7 separate regions of the Homo sapiens genome follow, and regions 1, 2, 3, 4, 5 and 7 are each linked to region 6. The links are contacts of gene promoters, found by promoter capture Hi-C in human tissues and cell types (Jung and others, 2019). All regions are on one chromosome and are shown on one strand. The core of a region is centred on a gene start or on the middle of the fragment in contact, and the rest is flanking DNA. Distances in the headings are between cores, read along the strand shown.

Region 1 (2,700 bases), core at 20-2,519, 490 kb after region 6:
GTCTTCTCATATCTTTCACAAGAGGCAGTCTGAGATATCTCAGGCAACTGCAGGGTATGCATGTGGCATATCTTGATTTTCGTAACACTTTGGCTGCTGAATCTCCATTCCAACCATGGCAATCTGTGAAAGCAAGAATATTGAGGAGAAAAGAGTAAAGAAAAGGGGAGACAACATGAGAGAGAACAGGAGTGGAGAAAGAGGATGAGAATTAAAGAGAGGGTAGAAAAGAGTTGATAAGAGTGACAGTAAGAGGAAGAGAAGGCAAGAGATAGAGTGACATTCACTGAAACCATAAAGCAGTGTGTCCTGCTGAATAGAGTAAGTGAGATCAACATGAACCCTTGGAAAAAAGATGCTATAGCCCACATTATTGCTCCTTACATTAAATTGTACTAAATATAAGTCTATTATCTGCTTAACTTAGTCTTGGTATAATTCACTGTGCTGCTGTAGGCCTCAGTTTCCATCTGAGGTCTTGCCTTTGTAAGCAAAACTGTAGCTCTGTACAGCAGAGATTTAGCTCCTTCACAACTGAAAAAAGGCTAAAGAAAGGGAAAACAAGGCACTTGGTGTTACAGAGTTAGAGAGAAGAGATACTGAAGTATTATACTTGGAAGCAGCAAACAAAAATCAGTCCCCAACGAATCTATGCCGTGCCATCTGCAGTCAATATGCATTATTACAGTTACACAGATGGCTGGGTTCGGGGGGAGTTCCAAGCCAGTGGTTCTAGACCTTAGCAGTGCACTGTGATCACCTGAGAGCTTAAAAAACATCTCAGTGTCCAGGTTCCACCCTAGATCAATTAAAGGGTGGAATCCAGGAATCAATATTTTTGGAGGCCCCCAGGTGACTCCATTGTGCAGCTAAGGTTGCAGACCTCTGATCTTGGATAACCCTGGGAGCCAAGCAACAAAGTTTTTGAACTCTGTAACCTGACTGCAGGTAAAGTAGCTCAATAAATGACTGTACCTGTTGGGTAATAACGGTGGCAATTCAGGGACTGTCAGAGGACTATGAAAAGTCCATCTGTTTGGAATGATGCAGATTTAATCAAATGATATTCTTCAAAAGTGACTACCTCATTCTCAGACATTTGGTTTGCCCCGAGTGTCTGATGGTCCCGGTTTGCTGGTATCTGTTTATAGCCATCTGCTGCCAGTGATTGTGGAGGTGAGGAACAACGTGTTGCCAGCTGAGGTGTGCAGCAGGGCAGCTTTCCTACCTGGTTTTTTCCTGGGAGGAAAGGTATCTTCACCCCTGGGAGTAAAGGTACCTCGAACATCCTAAATACACCTGTTATGGATTAGTTGTGTCTTCCTAATATTCTTATGTTGAAGTCTTAACTCCCAGTGCCTTAGAATGTGATTGTTTTGGAAATAGACTCTTTGGAGCTGTGATTAGTTAAGATAAGGCCCTACTGGAGTGTGATGACTTGACAGCTCCCTTCTTTTTAGTTCTAGATAACAATCTATTTTTCATGGTAAAAGTGGAAAGCATTCCATTATGTACATGTATATTAAAACATTATATTGTACACCTTAAATATATACATTTAAAAAAGAAAACATGTTTCATTGTCTGGATGTACCACAGTTTATTGATTCACCTACTGAAGGATGTAGACCTTTTACTGAATTCAGTTGGGGCTCCATTTTACAGCCCAGGGACTACAGCATGGAATCAGCAGGTGGCGGCATTACAGATCACTTAGAGGTCAAACAGTCCCTCTGATTAACCTAGGCTCACAATGATGTACTCCAAAGCATAGGTCTTAGGTCTCTAAAGTCCCAACACCCACTGCGTTAAGAGGTTAAAGAAATAAAACCGATTTGCTGTGGAGGCTGCGATATGACTGGTGTCATATAAAATGGGGAAATTTGTACACAGAAATATGCACACACGGAGAACACTGTGTGAAGATAAAGGCAGAGACCATCTGCTTCTATTAATATAAACCAAGGAGCACCAAAGACTGCCTGCAAAGCACGAGAAGCTAAGGCAGAGGCCTGGAAGGGATTCTCTTACTCACAGCCTTAGAAGAAACCAATTTTGTTGACACCTTGATTTTGGCCCTCCAGAGCTGTGAGATGATAAATGTCTGGCTTTTAAGCGAAACAGGTCGTGGTACCTTGTTACAGCAGCCCTTGGAAACTAATACAACGCCCCAGGATGGGAGAACAAATTCTGCCCACTGATGGGAACCAAATGGAGGCTTTCAGGCCTGGGGGAAGGTGTGCCCTGAACCAATCAGCTGGCCCCATTCCAAACCTGCTTCAAACTGATCACACAGATGTTTGCTCCTGATACCCTCGTGCTCACTGTATCCACTGTTGGGGGATTGAAATACCCCAAGCAGGGCCAGCTCCACGGGTGTGTGACCTGTGCAGTCACACAGGGCCCACTCCTATTTTAATTCTCTGGTGTTGCCATCTTGAAATTCTTAATTTTTGAACAAGAGCCCAGCATTTTCACTTTGCACTGGGCCCCCCAAAATTGTGTGGCCATTCCTTTCCCCAAATGTCTCACCAACTTTCCCTCTTTCGATCAGATCCCATCTACTTTGTCTGAATTTCTTATTGTGTCTGATCCACTGATGTCACCCCCTTCTTGCTTTCAGTGATATTTTTGTAGAAGTTTCCTTTTTAATACTATTGTTTCTGTTATTTGTAGGGATTTGGGGCAGGAGGGAATGGC
Region 2 (2,700 bases), core at 187-2,686, 410 kb after region 6:
CCGGGAGGTGGAGGTTGCAGTGAGCCGAGATCACGCCACTGTACTCCAGCCTGGGTGACAGAGAGAGACTCAGTCTCAAAAAAAAAAAAAAAAAAAGAAAGTTGGAGAAAAAATAGTTAACATGCCAGAGGGATATATTTTTAACTCTTTTATGATTTGTGAGGTGCTGTTCTCAGTGCTTAGAAAGCTAAGATTCTAGATAATGGGTCATGACCACACTCTTGGGAACACTAGACCAAACCTAAAACAACAAACAAACAAAAAACTCCAAACAAAATCCAAGTTCTGTATTTTATTTATTTATTTACTTATCTATTTATTTATTTATTTATTTATTTTGAGACAGAGTCTCACTCTTGTTGCCCAGGCTGGAGTGCAATGGCACGATCTCGGCTCACTGCAACCTCTGCCTCCCAAGTTCAAGTGATTCTCCTGCCTCAGCCCTCAAAGTAGGTGGGATTACAAGAATGCGCCACCATACCTGGCTAATTTTTATATTTTTAGTAGAGATGGGGTTTCACCATGTTGGCCAGGCTGGTCTTGAACTGCTGACCTCAGGTGATCCACCTGCCTCGGCCTCCCATAGTGCTGGGATTACAGGCGTGAGCCACTGCTCCCGGCCTGTTCTGTATTTTAAATGCCAAATCAAGAGAAAACAAATTTTAAGCTTTTCCATTCAACTCGTGTTACAGTTATAACTGAATTCAAGGACTGGAGGTGGGCTTTTAAAAAGCTGCTTTTTTTTTTCTACTATGAAACATTTAGGACATAAAAAATGTTTAAAGAACAGTTTAGTGAACATCCAGATATTTATCACATAGTTTAAGAAATAAACCCCATGAATTCATTTGAAGGTCTTTGTGTGTTCCTCCTCTGCCTTATCCCACTCTCAACCTACAGAATTGCTATCTTGATTTTTACGTTATCATTCCTAGAGGTGTGATTATTTAATAGGGGCATTCTAAGTCAATAAGGTTAGGATGAAATAAAAGCCATCATGTTGAATCATGTGTCTACTGAAATCCTCTATCTTGAAGGACTTTTAGCAAAAAATTAGAAATGTGAATGTTTGGTCTAAATTCTCCACTGCATTATAATTAATGTCATTGATTTTTATGCTTTTTTTTTTTTTTTTTTGAGACGGAGTCTTGCTCTGTCACCAGGCTGGAGTGCAGTGGTGCAATCTCGGCCCACTGCAACCTCGGCCTCCCAGGTCCAAGCAATTCTCCTGCCTCAGCCTCTCAAGCAGCTGGGACTACAGGGGCCTGCCACCATTCACAGCTAATTTTTGTATTTTTAGTAGAGACGGGGTTTCATCCTGTTGGCCAGGATGGTCTCAATCTCTTGACCTCGTGATCCACCCACCTCGGCCTCCCAACGTGCTGGTATTACAGGCGTGAGCCACCACACCCGGCCTGATTTTATGCTTTAACATTCACATCTTCTACTGAAGGACTATCTTCTAAGGATGATTTCAGGTTGTAAGCAGGAGTCCATGTAAAACCCAAGAGTGAGAATGCAAAAAGGGATTGCAGGGCCTAGAAGATACTCTGTCTCTCGTTTCTGCTTCTCTGTCTGCCTGATTCTTCTTGCTCTTCATGCAAGATTTCTCCAAAACAAAGACATTCATAAGGCTACCAGGTTTAGCAAAAACTTTATAGATACATATATATTTTATATATTATGTATCTCGTATATATGTGTTTGATGCTTGATTACATTTAAATTTCCGCTAAAGAATAAAGATTTTTAGTGTTCATCCTACGCAATAACTGGGTGTATTTACACTAAAAATATTTCATTGTTTATTAGAAATATAAGCTTAAATGAGAATTCAATATTTTTTTCTGCCAACCCTAAATAGCTTTTACAAATATACGTCTCAAGCCCAGCCCCATGTAGAGACTCGTTTTCTCTTCCTTTTAACTCCTGGGAGGGAAAAGACTCTGATTGGTCCAGCCTTGGTGGGTTTCAAGTAGCTTGGGCTGAGTAATGTTGATTACACAGTGCTACTAGAAGACTACCTTTGTGGATTAAGGCAGCAACTACAGAGGGTGATTGTGAGCTGGGATGACATACAATGTCCACTCCAGACTATCTGTATTTACTTCGCTTTCAAATAAATGGAGATTGTTCTCGTTGGTTCCTTCTCTCATTTCTCTTAGGAGGCAGTGTTATGTGGCAGGTAGGAACACAGACCCTGAATTTCCACTTCCAAGCGTGATTCCTTCCTCTACTACTTACCAGTTACGATTTTGTGCAAGTCAACTTCCTTATATGTAAAAACGAGATAGATAATAATAGTAACTATAGGATTGCTGTGAAAATTAAATGAACTAAAATAGGTAAAGCACTTAGAACCCTGCCTGTAACATATTAAAATTATACAACAGTTTATTATTTTTCTCCTGAGAAAAGTGTATGCCCAGTGGCTTTCAGGAAGGATGTCCAGGAAGAGAGGGGGACAATCTAACTGACTCACTTGGTTTTAAAACCAGTGTATACCAACTTTAGGCTTATTCTTCAAAATATTTTAGCCCAGAAGTCTACTAATATTTCTGTAAAGGGTCAGATAGCAAATATTTTAGGCTTTATGGGTCCTGTGGTGTTTGCACAATGCCCCAAGTGTGCTGCTGTAGCATGAAAGCAGGCATGGAAAATTTATAAGCAAATGGGTGTGGTCTTGTTTCAATAAAACTT
Region 3 (2,700 bases), core at 173-2,672, 350 kb after region 6:
TCTCTTCTCACTGGGATGGAAGCTCCATGGGGGTAGAAATCTTTGAGTGCTCCCATATGCCCTCCACCTACCACGGTACCTGGAACATAGGCATTCAATAAATATTTGTTGAATGAATTAATGAATGAATGAAAGGAAATACAGTTGACCCTTGAACAACATGGGTTTGAACTGTGTAGGTCCATTTATACTTGCATTTTCTTCTGCCTGTACCACCCCTGAAATAGCAAGACCAACTCCTCTTCTCACTCCTCTTCTTTAGCCTCCTCAAAATGAAGACGATGAGGATGAAGACCTTCATGATGATCCACTTCCACTTAATAAATAGGAAATATATTTTCCCTTCCTCGTGATTTTCTTAATAATAACATTTTATTTTCTCTAGCTTACTTTATTATAAGAATACAGTATGTAATACATATAACATGCAAAATGTGTGTTACTTGACTGTTTTATTATTAGTAGGATTTCTGGTCAATAATAGGCTACTACTAGTTAAATTTTGGAATAGTCGAAAGTTATATGCAGATTTTTGACTGTGTGGGGGTAGGAGTTGTTCAAGAGTCAACTGTATCGTGAGGCTGAGGTTTGAGGTGCATCTCTTCTACTATCATGTCAACGTCATCAGTGCTTATGGGAACACCTGTCCAAAGGTACAAGGGAGATGGCAGTGTGTGTTAGTCTGTTCTCCACTGCTAATAAAGACATACCGAAGGCTGGGTAATTTATATAAGAAGAGGTTTAATGGACTTACAGTTCCACGTGGCTGGGGAGGCCTCACAATCATGGTAGAAGGTAAAAAAGAAGCAAAGTCGAATCTTGCATTGTGGCAGGCAAGAGAGCTTGTGCAGGGGAACTCCCATTTATAAAACCATCAGATCTCGTGAGACTTATTCACTATGGCAAAAACAGTATGGAGGAAACCACCCCATGATTCAATTATCTCCCACAAGATCCCTCCCACAACACATGAGAATTATGGGAGCTAAAATTCAAGATGAGATTTGGGTGGGGACACAGCCAAACCATATCAGAAATATATCCACTTGGGCATTAATTATCCATGGACAGGAGTATTATGAAACGTCCCCATAAGGTCAAAAGGTGACACATTTCATCCAATTTATTTTAACATTCACCAAGATTAGGAAGAGAAAAATAAGACATTACTGAAGGTTACTTTTTTTTTCACTTTTTAAAAATCCTTCCACTTCCTGTTTTCTTCAGGGAGACTGAAAAATGTCTTCTCAAACATTTCTCATTATCAGAACTTAACAAAAATTCTAATTAGGGCTACTGCACACTTCAGTGGTAGTTTTCAAAATGGAGCTCTGGCTTCATCTTTGTCAGGCTGCCAATCTTTTCTATCCTTGCCAAAGATGCCCTCTATAATAATAATACTAATAATTACCATTTATTGAAAGTCTACTATGTGCCAGGCAATTTGCATACATTAGCAGTTGTCTTCACACAAATCATATGAGGTGGGAACTATTAACCCTAATTTTAGATGAAGTGATTTGCCCAAAGCCAAGCAGCTAGAAATTGGCAGAACTGGGATTCAGACTCAAGTCTATCATCTGGTCCAAAACTTTCCATGTCCAGCCTTCACAGATTTAGGGGAGAGAGAAGATAAGACAACAGGACCACTTGTCACTGCTTCCAGCATGACCATCAGTTCCAACCGGAGGGTTTGTTACGAGTTATTATGTCACCAGCCTTGGTTGCTAGGTCTCTCTGGGAACAGAGTTTAGGGAATCCCAGGAGACTCTGAGACACCCAATTAGAAAGGCAATAATAGCAGACTTGAGAATAGACTGATTGCTTATTCATTATTCTTGTTATTTCTGGACTTTTCCATCCATCGTACAGCGGGCTGTCAGCAATTACCATGACGTTCTTTCCAGAAAGGGGCCTCTTGGCCCCACTAATCACCTCCCCCAGAACCAAATAGAGTCTTTCAGGTGGCAAATTCTTCAGAAGCAACATCAAAATGCTCCTGTCTTTGGGGCTTCCCAGTGAATCCTCAGCGGACACCTTGGGGCAAAGTGAAAGCACTGGACTTCAACAAATGAAGAAACAGTCCCTTCCGGGCTTGTTAAGTGCCAGGAGCCTTGTTGAGCAGGTGTTGCCCAGAGGCGACGTGGTCTTGTAATGGATCAGTAGATTAATACCAAGTAGCAGAGGATCAGGCCTGAACCTGAACTTGAGCTGTTTGAGCAGCAGGAAAGTATCTGTTCCCCTCACCTCCCAGGAGGAGCTTCTTTAATTTTTTTTCCTTCTTTCTATATCATCCTCTTTTTCTTCTTTGCTCCTCTATCTAATAACACTGCAGACTTGGATACCTGGCTTTAGCAGGTGGAGGACATCACTGATGCCTGTTACGTCCCCTAACCTCTCACTGCTTTCTCACACTTCCTCTTCTCTCTCTTGCTATGGTTCTACTTTGACTATATCTTTCTCCTTCATGCTCCTTTTCCTCTCTGTTCCTCTTCCTCTCCCTCAATTCTTCCCCTTTCTGTCTCTCTCTCTCCCTCTCTCATTCTCTTTCTGTCTAGGCATCTTTCTTCCTTTTTGTTTCATGCATTTCTCATCCTCTGAGATCTGCCTTTCTCTGAAACACATTCTCTCTGTTTGACCTTATGTCTCTTCTCTCTTGCCCTCTATCTTTGGGACTCTGTGTCTCTTTATGTGTGTGTC
Region 4 (2,700 bases), core at 101-2,600, 460 kb after region 6:
GACCTAGCTCGGCCTGGTGAGGAGCAGCCTGGGGAGGAAGGGAGGGGTCAGATGGGTCTGTAGAAAAGGAAGATTAGAAAGACTCAGCGACGCTTGGGGTTGGTTCTGAGGGGACAGGTGGGAGGGTAAGAAGGAAGATTTGGGACAAGTTGCACTGGGCACAGAGACTAGGAAGGGACTGATGTGTAAAAGAATGCCTGGACGTCAGGCACCTCAGACCGTTTGCCTATTTTACGACAAGAATTATTTAGATTTTGCAGGATGGAAAAATTCAAAGTGCCATTTTCTGGCTATTTGGAACTACCGTCGAGTTTGTATTGGGGTCAAACGGCATTGCAGAAGAAAAGGCATTTAGGTTTTAGGTCAGGTGTGAGTTGAAGAGGTTTTAAGTTTTTGAGAACACAGGCTAAGGGAGAAGAAGGAGGAATGGAAGGTGGAAGCTTACCTATAGTGAAGGAGGCAAACCCACAGAAAACAGTAGAGACACGGAGAAGGGGTGGAGGGTTCTTGCCCTCCAGAAAAGCAGAGAAGGGGTTGGGGCACGGAAATAAGGGATTGGGGCACAGAGATAAGAGGCTGGGGTGCGGAAATAAGCGACTGGGGGGTTCTTGCCCCCTAGGAAAGCGGGACTTGCCGCTAAGGGTGAAGTCCGTGACCGGCGCCGGAGTTTTGGGTTCACGGATAAAACATGTCTCTTTTGTCTCTACTAGAAAATGAAAGGAATTGAAATTAAGAGAAGGGAGAGATTGAAGTGTGGCGCTAAGATTGAAAGGAGAAAGAGGTTGAGGGATAGTGAGGGAGGTTGGAGAAGAGAGTAAAAAGAGGCCGCTTACCGGATTTGAAATTGGTGAGATGTTTCTTGGGCTGGTGGGTCTGAGGACTTGAGGTCGTAGGTGGATCTTTGTCACGGAGCAAAGAGCAGGAGGACAGGGGATTGGTCTCCTAAGGGAGGTCCCCCGATCCGAGTCACAGCACCAAATTTCATGCGCGTCCGTGTGAAGAGACCACCAAACAGGCTTTGTGTGAGCAACATGGCTGTTTATTTCACCTGGGTGCAGGCGGGCTGAGTCCAAAAAGAGAGTCAGCGAAGGGACATAGGGTGGGGCCGTTTTATAGGATTTGGATAGGTAAAGGAAAATTACAGTCAAAGGGGGTTTGTTCTCTGGCGGGTAGGAGTGGGGGTCGCAAGGTGCTCAGTGGGCAGGAGTGGGGGTCGCAAGGTGCTCAGTGGGGGTGCTTTTTGAGCCAGGATGAGCCAGGAAAAGGACTTTCACAAGGTAATGTCATCAGTTAAGGCAATGACCGGCCATTTACACTTCTTTTGTGGTGGAATGTCATCAGTTAAGGTGGGGCAGGGCATATTCACTTCTTTTGTGATTCTTTAGTTACTTCAGGCCATCTGGGCGATATATATACGTGCAGGTCACAGGGGATGTGATGGCTTGGCTTGGGCTTAGAGGCCTGACAGTATGCCTCTGTGATGGGTACGGCCTCCCTTGAAAAGAGAGAATCTTCCTTCATCCAGCAAGTTTTAGCAAGTGGAAAGGGTAGCAATTGGCCCTCACTACTAGCTATGATTGGTAGTGACTATCTGGGATACTGGGGTGAGAAGGATTCTGAAATCAATGGACTAAAAGACCTGATTGATTAGTGATGTCTACCTGGGAGCATGAGGTGCTATATTTGACATCTGGGTTTTGAGTGAGATACCTGTATTCAAATCCTGGTTTTAAAAGCTTGGGATTTTGGACTTTAAAAAGTCTCTCTTCTAATGCTGTCCCTCCCTTTGTCCCCCACCCCCCAACAGGCTGTGCTGTGTGATGTTCCCTTCGCTGTGTCCACGTGTTCTCTCTCATTTTCTTAGATCAGCTACCTAATCTGTTACCAACCTAAGGGGATTACATAAAATATTCCGTGAGGATGTTGCTGGCATAAGTAGATGCTAATACAATTCCTCTATCTCTTCCCATTTCCTTCCCTTTCCTTTACATTCTTCAGGACCCAAAAACCGTAAGAGAGTATTCTCTTTTCAGAATTTTCACCAATACATTCAGCATAATTGTAAGTGCTTCAACCAACCAGTGAAAGGCCTCCAGATAGAGAAAGATGGGAACCCCTCTCTGCCTTATACCTGACCAACATAAGACTGTTGACAGTTATGAGTTCCAGACATCAACAGCAGCTGTAATAACCTTTCTCTTGGCTGTTTTCAGCAGAGCCATAAAAAGATGAACATGATATGATTGACAGGCCTAGAAGACAGGGTGTTTTTAGGACCAAATAGTGTTAGAAGGACCTGCTGGAATGAGGAATACAGGAAAAGACCTCAATACACTGTGTATGGTACTGAACTTAGCAGATTACTGATGGAATTTTTGGAATACCTCCTCAGAGGCATGAAGCCTAGAACTTTAATAGCTCTGTATTCCTGAAGGTAAAGAATTTCTTGATTAGGATGAGAAATGCAATTCCCATCCGTTGGACTTCAACTGAAGAAGAATGTCCAGTTTTAGATTCTCCAGAAGAATGTCCAGTTTTAGATCCTAGTCTGCAAAACAATAAATCTTCAAAATTCCAATAATTAGTACTGAGGAGAATCAACTTGTTAATACTGTTGCCATTTTCACTGTAATATTTTTTGGGGGGAGGTCAAGGCGGGGTGGATCATTTGAGGTCAGGAGTTCAAAACCAGCTTGGCTA
Region 5 (2,852 bases), core at 344-2,843, 430 kb after region 6:
TTCTTGGCATTGTGTTTACCAATTTTTAAAAGTCTTGCCTTCAGGACACACTGAACATGATTACTCTATGTGAAAGACGCATTCCTGGTACTTTTTTAACGTACCAAGCCAGAGTCCTACCAGCCTTTCTCCCTGCCCGCTGCACTAGAAGTGTAAGCATGTCCTTGCCTGGGAGGAAGGGAGCCGAGAGCCATGACCTGGCATGAGTTGGGTCTTTTGGGGGTGGACCCTGTACTTTTTAGTTAGTAGATTAGCAAGCTCATGAAAAGGCATAGCCACGTGCGGTGTCTCATGCCTATAATCCCAGCACTTTGGGAGGCCGAGGCAGGTGGATCACCTGAGGTCAAGAGTTCGAGACCAGCCTGACCAATATGGTGAAACTCCATCTCTACTAAAAATACAAAAATTAGGTGGCTGTGGTGTTGTGCACCTGTAATCCCAGACACTCGGGAGACTGAGGCAGGAGAATCACTTGAACCCAGGAGGCAGAGGTTGCAGTGAGCTGAGATCGAGCTGCTGCACTCCAGCCTGGGTGACAGGGCAAGACTCTGTCTCAAAAAAGAAAAGGCATAGCTCTTGCCTTTCTTTGAGCCTCAAGATTGCACTTTTTTTTTGAGACAGGGTCTTGCTTTGTTGCCCTGGCAGGAGTGCAGTGGCACGATCTCTACTCACTGAAACCTCCGCCTCCCGAGTTCAAGTGATTCTCGTGCCTCAGCCTCCCAAGTAGTTGGGATTACTGGCCCCTGCCACCACGCCTGGCTAATTTTTGTATTTTTTTAGTAGAGACAGGGTTTCTCCATGTTGGCCAGGCTGGCCTTGCACTCCTGACCTGGAGTGATCCACCCACTTCGGCCTCCCAAAGTGCTAGGATTACAGGTGTGAGCCACTGTGCCCCGCCAAGGTTGTACTTTAATACTTGTGTCACCTAAAATCTTTCATCGTACTCATAACAACATCATGCGCATTTATTAGCTTTGCGCAAGAAATCTGTTTTTGAAATGCATGCAAAGGGAGAGCAACTGCCCCTCCCACTCCCCTAAATACAGATATTTCCCATTCCCCCTCCTCTTAATTTCAAACTCGGCCTCGAGCAGGGGCCTCTCACCATCACTTCTTCTAGCCCCTGTGCACTTCTACAGAATCTTAGGCAGACTGGAGTAGATTAGAAAGGGAAGAAAACATAACTCCTAAATGCCAGCTCTCTAGTAAGAGTCTGTTTCTAGTTAGAGTCTATTTTCGCCCTGGACAACACCAGTGTGATTACAAGTGCAAGGTCTGCAGATTCAGCTACCCACCAGGGGGTTTGAACCTCCCCATGTTAGCAACATTTTTCTTTTCCTTTTTCTTCTCTTTTTCCTTTTTTTTTTTTTTTAAGGAATTTTACTCTTGTCACCCAGGCTGGAATGCAATGGCGTGATCTTGGCTCACTGCCACCTCTGCCTCCCAGGTTCAAATGATTCTCCTGCCTCAGCCTTCTGAGTAGCTAGAATTACAGGTGCCCACCACCACGCCTGGCTAAATATATGTGTATACACACACACACACACACACACACACACACACACACACACACACATATATATTGTATTTTTATCAGAGACGTGATTTTGCCACGTTGGCCAGGCTGGTCTTGTACCCCTGACCTCGGGCGATCCACCCGCCTCAGCTTCCCAAAGTGCTGGGATTACAGGTGTGAGCCACCATACCCAGCCTAGCAACATTTTTCATAAGAGGCAGCCTACTGCACTGGTGATATAGGAGTTAAGAAGAAATTATTTAGGCAGATAGTGAGAATACAGAAGTCCTCAGTAACATTTTCCTTTCAATGAAAAGCAGCCCCCAAATCATTTTTTTTCCCTAACAAGGAGCACCCTGTAAAATTGAGCTGCAGACATAGACAAGCGAGCTGGAAGCTTGCACCGTTGAATGCCGGCAGTTGTGCAAGTAGAAAATGGCTGCCTGGGACTAGGCAGGTTAAAAATGGCGCCTCCATCTTCCCTTCTTTTTGCTAAACCTCATGTACAGGAAGGAGAAGACAACATGACGCTGGCCAGGCAAAGGCCCCATTTGCATAATAAGATTGGGGTAGGGCGACCAGCCTTCCCTGCTCGCTAAGTAAATCACACACAGCCTCCTCAAGCCTGCCTGTAAAATCAGGAGCAGTCTGCTGCAGGCTGGTTTTTCCTTTCCGGCGCCCCTCTTTCTTGCAAGCGAGAGAGCTGTTCTCCTTTCTCTTTCTTCTATTAAACCTCCGCTCCTAAATTCACTCCTTGTCTCCTTGTGTGTGTTGGCATCCTCATCTTCTTGGGGCAAGACGATGAACCCTGGGTATTTACCTCAGACAATGACACTGCCTTACTGGGTTAAGGATACAGATTAAAATCCATGTGCTAGGTTGCATTGTTGATCCTAATTCTTCACCCCTCCCTCCAGCCACATCATTTTCCTTGTTGACTTTTCATTTTCTTCCCACTCCTCTAATTTGAGTTCTGCTATGTCACTCTCTTTAGGCAACAGAATAAGCTGAGGTGATGTAAAATTCCAAGACTACTCCTTCCCAGGCCTGTGAGTTTCCCTTTGCCCTCTTGCATCTCCTCCATGCTAGGAGAATAACATGCCCAGGACAACCTGCTGGATGAAAAGAACAGCAGAAAGGTAGAGCCATGCCAGTGAATTCCTAGCCCACCCCTAGCCAACCTGCAGACCTTGAGCTAAATGATGGCTTATTGTTGCGTCCGTCCTGGAAAGATATTTGGGGTTGTTTGTTCGGGTTCAATTTCTTGACTTTTCATGAAGAGCTAGAACTAGATGGTTCTTAAGGATAGTTTTAGCTCTGAAATCATGCAGTTCCT
Region 6 (2,722 bases), core at 40-2,539:
TTCTCTGAAGATGCCCTGAGAAGCCCTTGACTGCAGCCAAGTGGAGAGGAGGGTTGTGGAAACATTATCTCCTTGCAAATCGCCTAGCAGCCTGCAAAGTGTATACTTAGTTAATGCAATTAAAAAACAAAACGCCGGGGCGTGGGGAGATCTAAATTTGGTGTAGCAGCTTTGGTGCAAATCCTGTTTTGGGGCTACTGGAGTCAAATTCAAGCAGAGGAGAGAAAGAGGTGGGAGAAATGAGAGAGGGCCTCCGGGGAGCTGGAATTCGCTAGGAGAGAGAGGGCAGATTTGGAAACACAGAGGAGACGGGAGGCTGGAAGCTGAGGAAGCAAGGCAGAGCTCTGCAGCCCCCGGTGAGGATTTCCGGGGGGATCCGTGGGGACAGGGGCCAGCCAGCTCCAGAGACCGATGCGCGGGCTCCAGGTCCGGGAGGGTGGCTGAGGCTGGGTGCCCAGGCCTTGCGCTGCGCCAGATCCGGGAGCGCAGAGGCGGCGCCGCGGTGTTCCCTCCTGTGGAGCGCAGAAAACGCTGCGGGGGCGAAGAGGGACAGAAAGCGGCAGGTTCGAGAGGCTGGGGGACTTCCAAGGAAAGACCTTCCAGGACACGCCATAGCCTCGGCCTTGTTCGGCTGTCCCCTCTTACCCCCGACCTTCTTTGATTCGTTCATCCCGAGCCCCTCTCCCCCGGAGGGTGCTTATCCCTGGCTCAGGGGCTTGCCACCTGTCCTTCCCAGCTCCGCCTGGGTCCTTGCTTGGGCCCAGAGAGTTGAGCCATGCGGGTTGCGCTCAGGGCTGGAGGGCGCAGCCGGGAAGGGCAAGGAGGCCCCGCACGCCTGGGAGGGGCGATCCTGACCAGACTGCACCCAGTCTGTCTTGGAGTGAAAGCCATTTAGTCTGTCCCCATCCTCTCCGAGTCATCCTTCCCCTGATGCACAGATTTCGGCCGCCGCTCCTGCACACGCACCGGTGAAAAAGCTACGAGCTGAGCCGCCTCTGCGCTCTGGACAGGGCTGAGCCGCGCCTCCTACCCAGAGAGGGCGCGGGAGGTCCTGCCGCGGTTTTCCACCTGCCTGGAAATCCGAGCGGCTCCTCTAGCCTCGGCTGCTGCCGAGCTCGCTCCTCCCCGTCCGCTCGCCTGGCTCAGCTCTGCACGCCCCCCAGCTAGCTCCCGCTCTAGTCACCTCTTCCCCGCGCCCCCGCCCCTCTAGAGCTCGCGCCCGCCCCCCCCCACCCGCGCCTCCTCTGCCCGCCCTCCTCCCCCTCCCCCTTCCCTCCTGCCCTCCCTTCATTCCACAAGTGTCGCTTCGCTCTCTTCAGCGCACTTGGCGAGCTGGTGAGGTGAGAGGGATACTGCGAGAGGGCTAGGGGCGGCCAGTCCGGGGCTGCCGGCCAAGGCTAGGCGCTGCCAGCCCGATTCTCCTCTGCTCTCCACCCCCGCCTCACCCAGTGGCCGGCCGGACCTGCACCCCGCGCTTGACCCCGCTCATCCTCCCCCCGCCCGGCCGGGCGCGCTCCTCCCCGGCCGGCCCCTCGGCGCGCGGCGCGCTGGAGGCGAACGCGGGCTGAGGCGAACGCGGGCTGAGCCGAGCGCAGTGGCCGCCGACCACCGAGCGCCCCGCGCCGCTCCCTGCATGTGCGGCCCGCGGCGGCTCGCAGCTCCCGGCAGCAGCCTCGGCAGCTTCGGCCGCGCCTCGAGAGGCGGCCGCAGAGGCTCCAGCGGCGGCCGAGCGGCCGAGCCCGGGCTGGGAGACACCATGCGCCGCGTCCTTCGGCTGCTCCTCGGTTGCTTCCTCACCGAGCTGTGCGCCCGCGTGTGCCGGGCGCAGGAGCGAGCGGGACACGGGCAGCTGGCGCAACTGGGCGGCGTGTTGCTGCTGGCGGGGGGCAACCGCTCCGGGGCCGCCTCCGGAGAGGCCAGCGAGGGCGCTGAGGCATCGGACGCGCCCCCGACCCGGGCGCCCACGCCGGACTTCTGCCGGGGCTACTTCGATGTCATGGGCCAGTGGGACCCGCCGTTCAACTGCAGCTCGGGCGACTTCATCTTCTGCTGCGGGACTTGTGGCTTCCGGTTCTGCTGCACGTTTAAGAAGCGGCGACTGAACCAAAGCACCTGCACCAACTACGACACGCCGCTCTGGCTCAACACCGGCAAGCCCCCCGCCCGCAAGGACGACCCCTTGCACGACCCCACCAAGGACAAGACCAACCTGATCGTCTACATCATCTGCGGGGTGGTGGCCGTCATGGTGCTCGTGGGCATCTTCACCAAGCTGGGGCTGGAGAAAGCGCACCGGCCCCAAAGGGAGCACATGTCCAGGTGGGCTGCCTCCCCTTCGCCCTCCCCTCGGGGCTTCGCTCTCCCTGCTCTCTCCTCCCCACCTTCCCCCAGGCAATGGCGCTCCCCACGGTCCCCGCTCCCCGCATCCCAGCCTCTCCGCTGGGGGATGTCACCGGGAAGCCAACTTCGGCTTGGAACACGGAGAAGGGGCGCTGGGCTCAGCACAGGTGTGGGTCTGAGCGTGTTCGTGTGTGTGTGAGCGTGTGTGTGTGTGTGTGTGACTCTGCTCCCTCACCCTCTGGCCGCCTCCTCCCGCTGGTGACTGAGGCGGACTTGAGACACGTAGCCTGGGAGCCCGTGGCCCCGAAATCTTCGGGTTTGGGGAGAGGGTCCATGGCACCCCTCGGATTCCAGGTGCTAGCTTTTTGGTAAACAGGGGCAG
Region 7 (2,700 bases), core at 195-2,694, 470 kb after region 6:
TGTTGGTGTGCTGCACCCGTTAACTCGTCATTTACATTAGGTATATTTCCTAATGCTATCCCTCCCCTGGCCCTCCATCCATGACAGACCCCAGTGTGTGATGTTCCCCACCTTGTGTCCAAGTGTCCTCTTTGTTCAATTCCCACCTATGAGTGAGAACATGTGGTGTTTGTTTTTCTGTCCTTGCAATAGTTTGCTCAGAATGATGGTTTCTAGCTTCATCCATGTCCCTACAAAGGACATGAACTCATCCTTTTTTATGGCTGCATAGTATTCCATGGTGTATATGTGCCACATTTTCTTAATCCAGTCTATCATTGATGGACATTTGGGTTGGTTCCAAGTCTTTGCTATTGTGAATAGTGCTGCAATAAACATATGTGTGCATGTGTCTTTATAGCAGCATGATTTATAGTTCTTTGGGTATATGCCTATTAATGGGATGCCTGGGTCAAATGGTATTTCTAGTACTAGATCCTTGAGGAATCGCCACACTGTCTTCCACAATGGTTGAACTAGTTTACAGTCCCACCAACAGTGTAGAAGTGTTCCTATTTCTCCACATCCTCTCCAGCATCTGTTGTTTCCTGACTTTTTAATGACTGCCATTCTAACTGGTGTGAGATGGTATCTCATTGTGGTTTTGAGTTGCATTTCTCTGATGGCCAGCGATGATGAGCATTTTTTCATGTGTCTGTTGGCTGCATAAATGTCTTCTTTTGAGAAGCGTCTGTTCATATCCTTTGCCCACTTTTTGATGGGGTGGGGTTGTTTGATTTTTTCTCGTAAATTTGTTTAAGTTCTTTGTAGATTCTGGATATTAGCCCTTTGTCAGGTGGGTAGATTGTAAAAATTTTCTCCCATTCTGTAGGTTGCCTGTTCACTCCGATGGTAGTTTCTTTTGCTGTGCAGAAGCTCTTTAGTTTAATTAGATCCCATTTGTCAATTGTGGCTTCTGTTGCCATTGCTTTTGGTGTTTCAGTCATGAAGTCCTTTCCCATGCCTATGTCCTGAATGGTATTGCCTAGGTTTTCTTCCAGAGTTTTTATGGTTTTAGGTCTAACATTTAAGTCTTTAATCCATCTTGAATTAATTTTTGTATAAGATGTAAGGAAGGGATCTGGTTTCAGCTTTCTACATATGGCTAGCCAGTTTTCCCAGCACCATTTATTAAATAGGGAATCCTTTCCCCATTTCTTGTTTTTGTCAGGTTTGTCAAAGATCAGGTGGTTGTAGATGTGTGGTATTATTTCTGAGAGCTCTGTTCTGTTCCATTGGTCTATATCTCTGTTTTGGTACCAGTACCATGCTGTTTTGGTTACTGTAGCCTTGTAGTATAGTTTGAAGTCAGGTAGCGTGACTTTCAAATAGAAAAAAGAAAACATCCAAAAAGAAAACTAAGAAAACAATTCCATTAGCAATAGCCAAAAAACAAAAAAACAAAAAACTTAAGAAATTAAGAAAAGAAGCCTAAGACTTGTACACTAAACACTACAACACATCACTGAAAGCAACTAAAGAAGACCTAAGTAAGTGGAAAGCTATCCTGTATTCATGGATAAGAAGACTTAATATTGCTAAAATGGCAACACTCTCCAAATAGATCTGAAGATTCAACCCAACACCTATCAAAATCCTAGCTCCCGTTTTTGCAGCATTTGGCAGGCTGATCCTAAAATTTATATGGGGTTTCAAGTAGCAAAATACAAGGGGTTTCAAATAGTGGGAAAAAAAAAATCTTAAAATTGGAAAACTCACGTTTTCTGATTTCAAAAGTTACAGCAATCAAAACAGGTACCCAGGTGATGGAAGAAGTCCATCTTGGACATTGATAATTGTGTTCCCTAGAAAAAAGAGAGAAAATGAAATACCACACAATGACTCTGAAAAATTCTGCTCATAATTGTTCCACATCATTTTGGTTCACATTCCAATGGCATAAGCACGTCATATGGCTAAAACATGGTTTCAATGAACACAAATGTATAATCCTCCCTTAGGGAGTGGCAGTAAATATTTTGAGCAATTATAATATGTTCAGGTGATATTTTAGATAGAGTCATGGCATAATAATTTGGAGGTCTAGTCACTCCTGGAGCCTGACTGATTCTCTGGAAGAATCTTCAGAAAGTGTGAAGATGATGTCAACACACTTATATGACTACATGCTTCTCAGCACATTTACAGCCAGGTGGGGAAATCCCATGTCAGCCCACTCACCTCTCTAATGTATCTGAAGTCATTTCAGCTTTTACCTCTATAACCAGAGCTGTTTTTTTCCAGAGAGTCCAAGAGAAAGTAAAGTTGCAGAAAATTGAATCAGGACCATGGCTATGAGCAAACACATGGATTTTTTTTATTTTAGATTGGTTAAAAATTAAATTTCTGTTTCCAGGGGTGGAGCTGAAAGAACATCCCTTATTCTGTAAATTATAGGGTGTTTATTTTCTTTCTTATCTTTTTGGAGACAGGGTCTCACTCCATTGCCCAGGCTGGAGTGCAGTGGCATGAACTCAGCTCACTGCAGCCTTGACCTCTTGGGCGATCCTCCCACCTCAGCCTCCTGAGTAGCTGAGACTACAGGTGCACACCACTATGCCCAGCTAATTTTTGTATTTCTTGTAGAGATGTGTTGCCCAGGCTGGTTTCGAACTCCTGCACTCAAGTGATCCACCCGCCTTGGCATCCCAAAATGCTGGC

Evidence for each region. The method cuts DNA at HindIII sites, captures the fragments that hold promoters and counts their contacts. A contact is called where the count stands out against the background at its distance.
Region 1: a fragment that was not itself captured here is called in contact with the fragment with the promoter of SHISA9 in region 6 in 4 of the 25 tissues and cell types used here (dorsolateral prefrontal cortex, hippocampus, lymphoblastoid cells and 1 more).
Region 2: a fragment that was not itself captured here is called in contact with the fragment with the promoter of SHISA9 in region 6 in 5 of the 25 tissues and cell types used here (H1 embryonic stem cells, dorsolateral prefrontal cortex, lymphoblastoid cells and 2 more).
Region 3: a fragment that was not itself captured here is called in contact with the fragment with the promoter of SHISA9 in region 6 in 4 of the 25 tissues and cell types used here (dorsolateral prefrontal cortex, heart right ventricle, liver and 1 more).
Region 4: a fragment that was not itself captured here is called in contact with the fragment with the promoter of SHISA9 in region 6 in 6 of the 25 tissues and cell types used here (H1 embryonic stem cells, dorsolateral prefrontal cortex, hippocampus and 3 more).
Region 5: a contact is called between a fragment that was not itself captured here and the fragment with the promoter of SHISA9 in region 6, in 2 of the 25 tissues and cell types used here (mesendoderm cells and thymus).
Region 7: a contact is called between a fragment that was not itself captured here and the fragment with the promoter of SHISA9 in region 6, in 3 of the 25 tissues and cell types used here (bladder, lymphoblastoid cells and mesendoderm cells).

The regions. Positions count from the first base shown.
Region 1 is chr16:13,390,854-13,393,553 of GRCh38, forward strand. It overlaps a transcript of SHISA9 not described here. Among named protein-coding and RNA genes, the nearest start is that of SHISA9, 490 kb to the left of the region's middle. The HindIII fragment of the contact is 6,176 bases long and covers 1-2,700 here.
Region 2 is chr16:13,309,566-13,312,265 of GRCh38, forward strand. All of the region lies in intron 2 of LOC107984137 (a long non-coding RNA gene), which reads left to right. It also overlaps a transcript of SHISA9 not described here. Among named protein-coding and RNA genes, the nearest start is that of SHISA9, 410 kb to the left of the region's middle. The HindIII fragment of the contact is 3,497 bases long and covers 1-2,700 here.
Region 3 is chr16:13,252,726-13,255,425 of GRCh38, forward strand. All of the region lies in intron 1 of LOC107984137 (a long non-coding RNA gene), which reads left to right. It also overlaps a transcript of SHISA9 not described here. Among named protein-coding and RNA genes, the nearest start is that of SHISA9, 350 kb to the left of the region's middle. The HindIII fragment of the contact is 4,487 bases long and covers 1-2,700 here.
Region 4 is chr16:13,356,595-13,359,294 of GRCh38, forward strand. It overlaps a transcript of SHISA9 not described here. Among named protein-coding and RNA genes, the nearest start is that of SHISA9, 460 kb to the left of the region's middle. RefSeq lists an enhancer at 811-1,757. The HindIII fragment of the contact is 3,925 bases long and covers 1-2,700 here.
Region 5 is chr16:13,327,061-13,329,912 of GRCh38, forward strand. It overlaps a transcript of SHISA9 not described here. Among named protein-coding and RNA genes, the nearest start is that of SHISA9, 430 kb to the left of the region's middle. The HindIII fragment of the contact is 4,216 bases long and covers 1-2,852 here.
Region 6 is chr16:12,900,309-12,903,030 of GRCh38, forward strand. It overlaps SHISA9 (shisa family member 9), which reads left to right and starts at 1,290. Exons shown (of 5, transcript NM_001145204.3): 1 at 1,290-2,319. The coding sequence starts at 1,757. The HindIII fragment of the contact is 6,671 bases long and covers 1-2,722 here.
Region 7 is chr16:13,374,248-13,376,947 of GRCh38, forward strand. It overlaps a transcript of SHISA9 not described here. Among named protein-coding and RNA genes, the nearest start is that of SHISA9, 470 kb to the left of the region's middle. The HindIII fragment of the contact is 5,336 bases long and covers 1-2,700 here.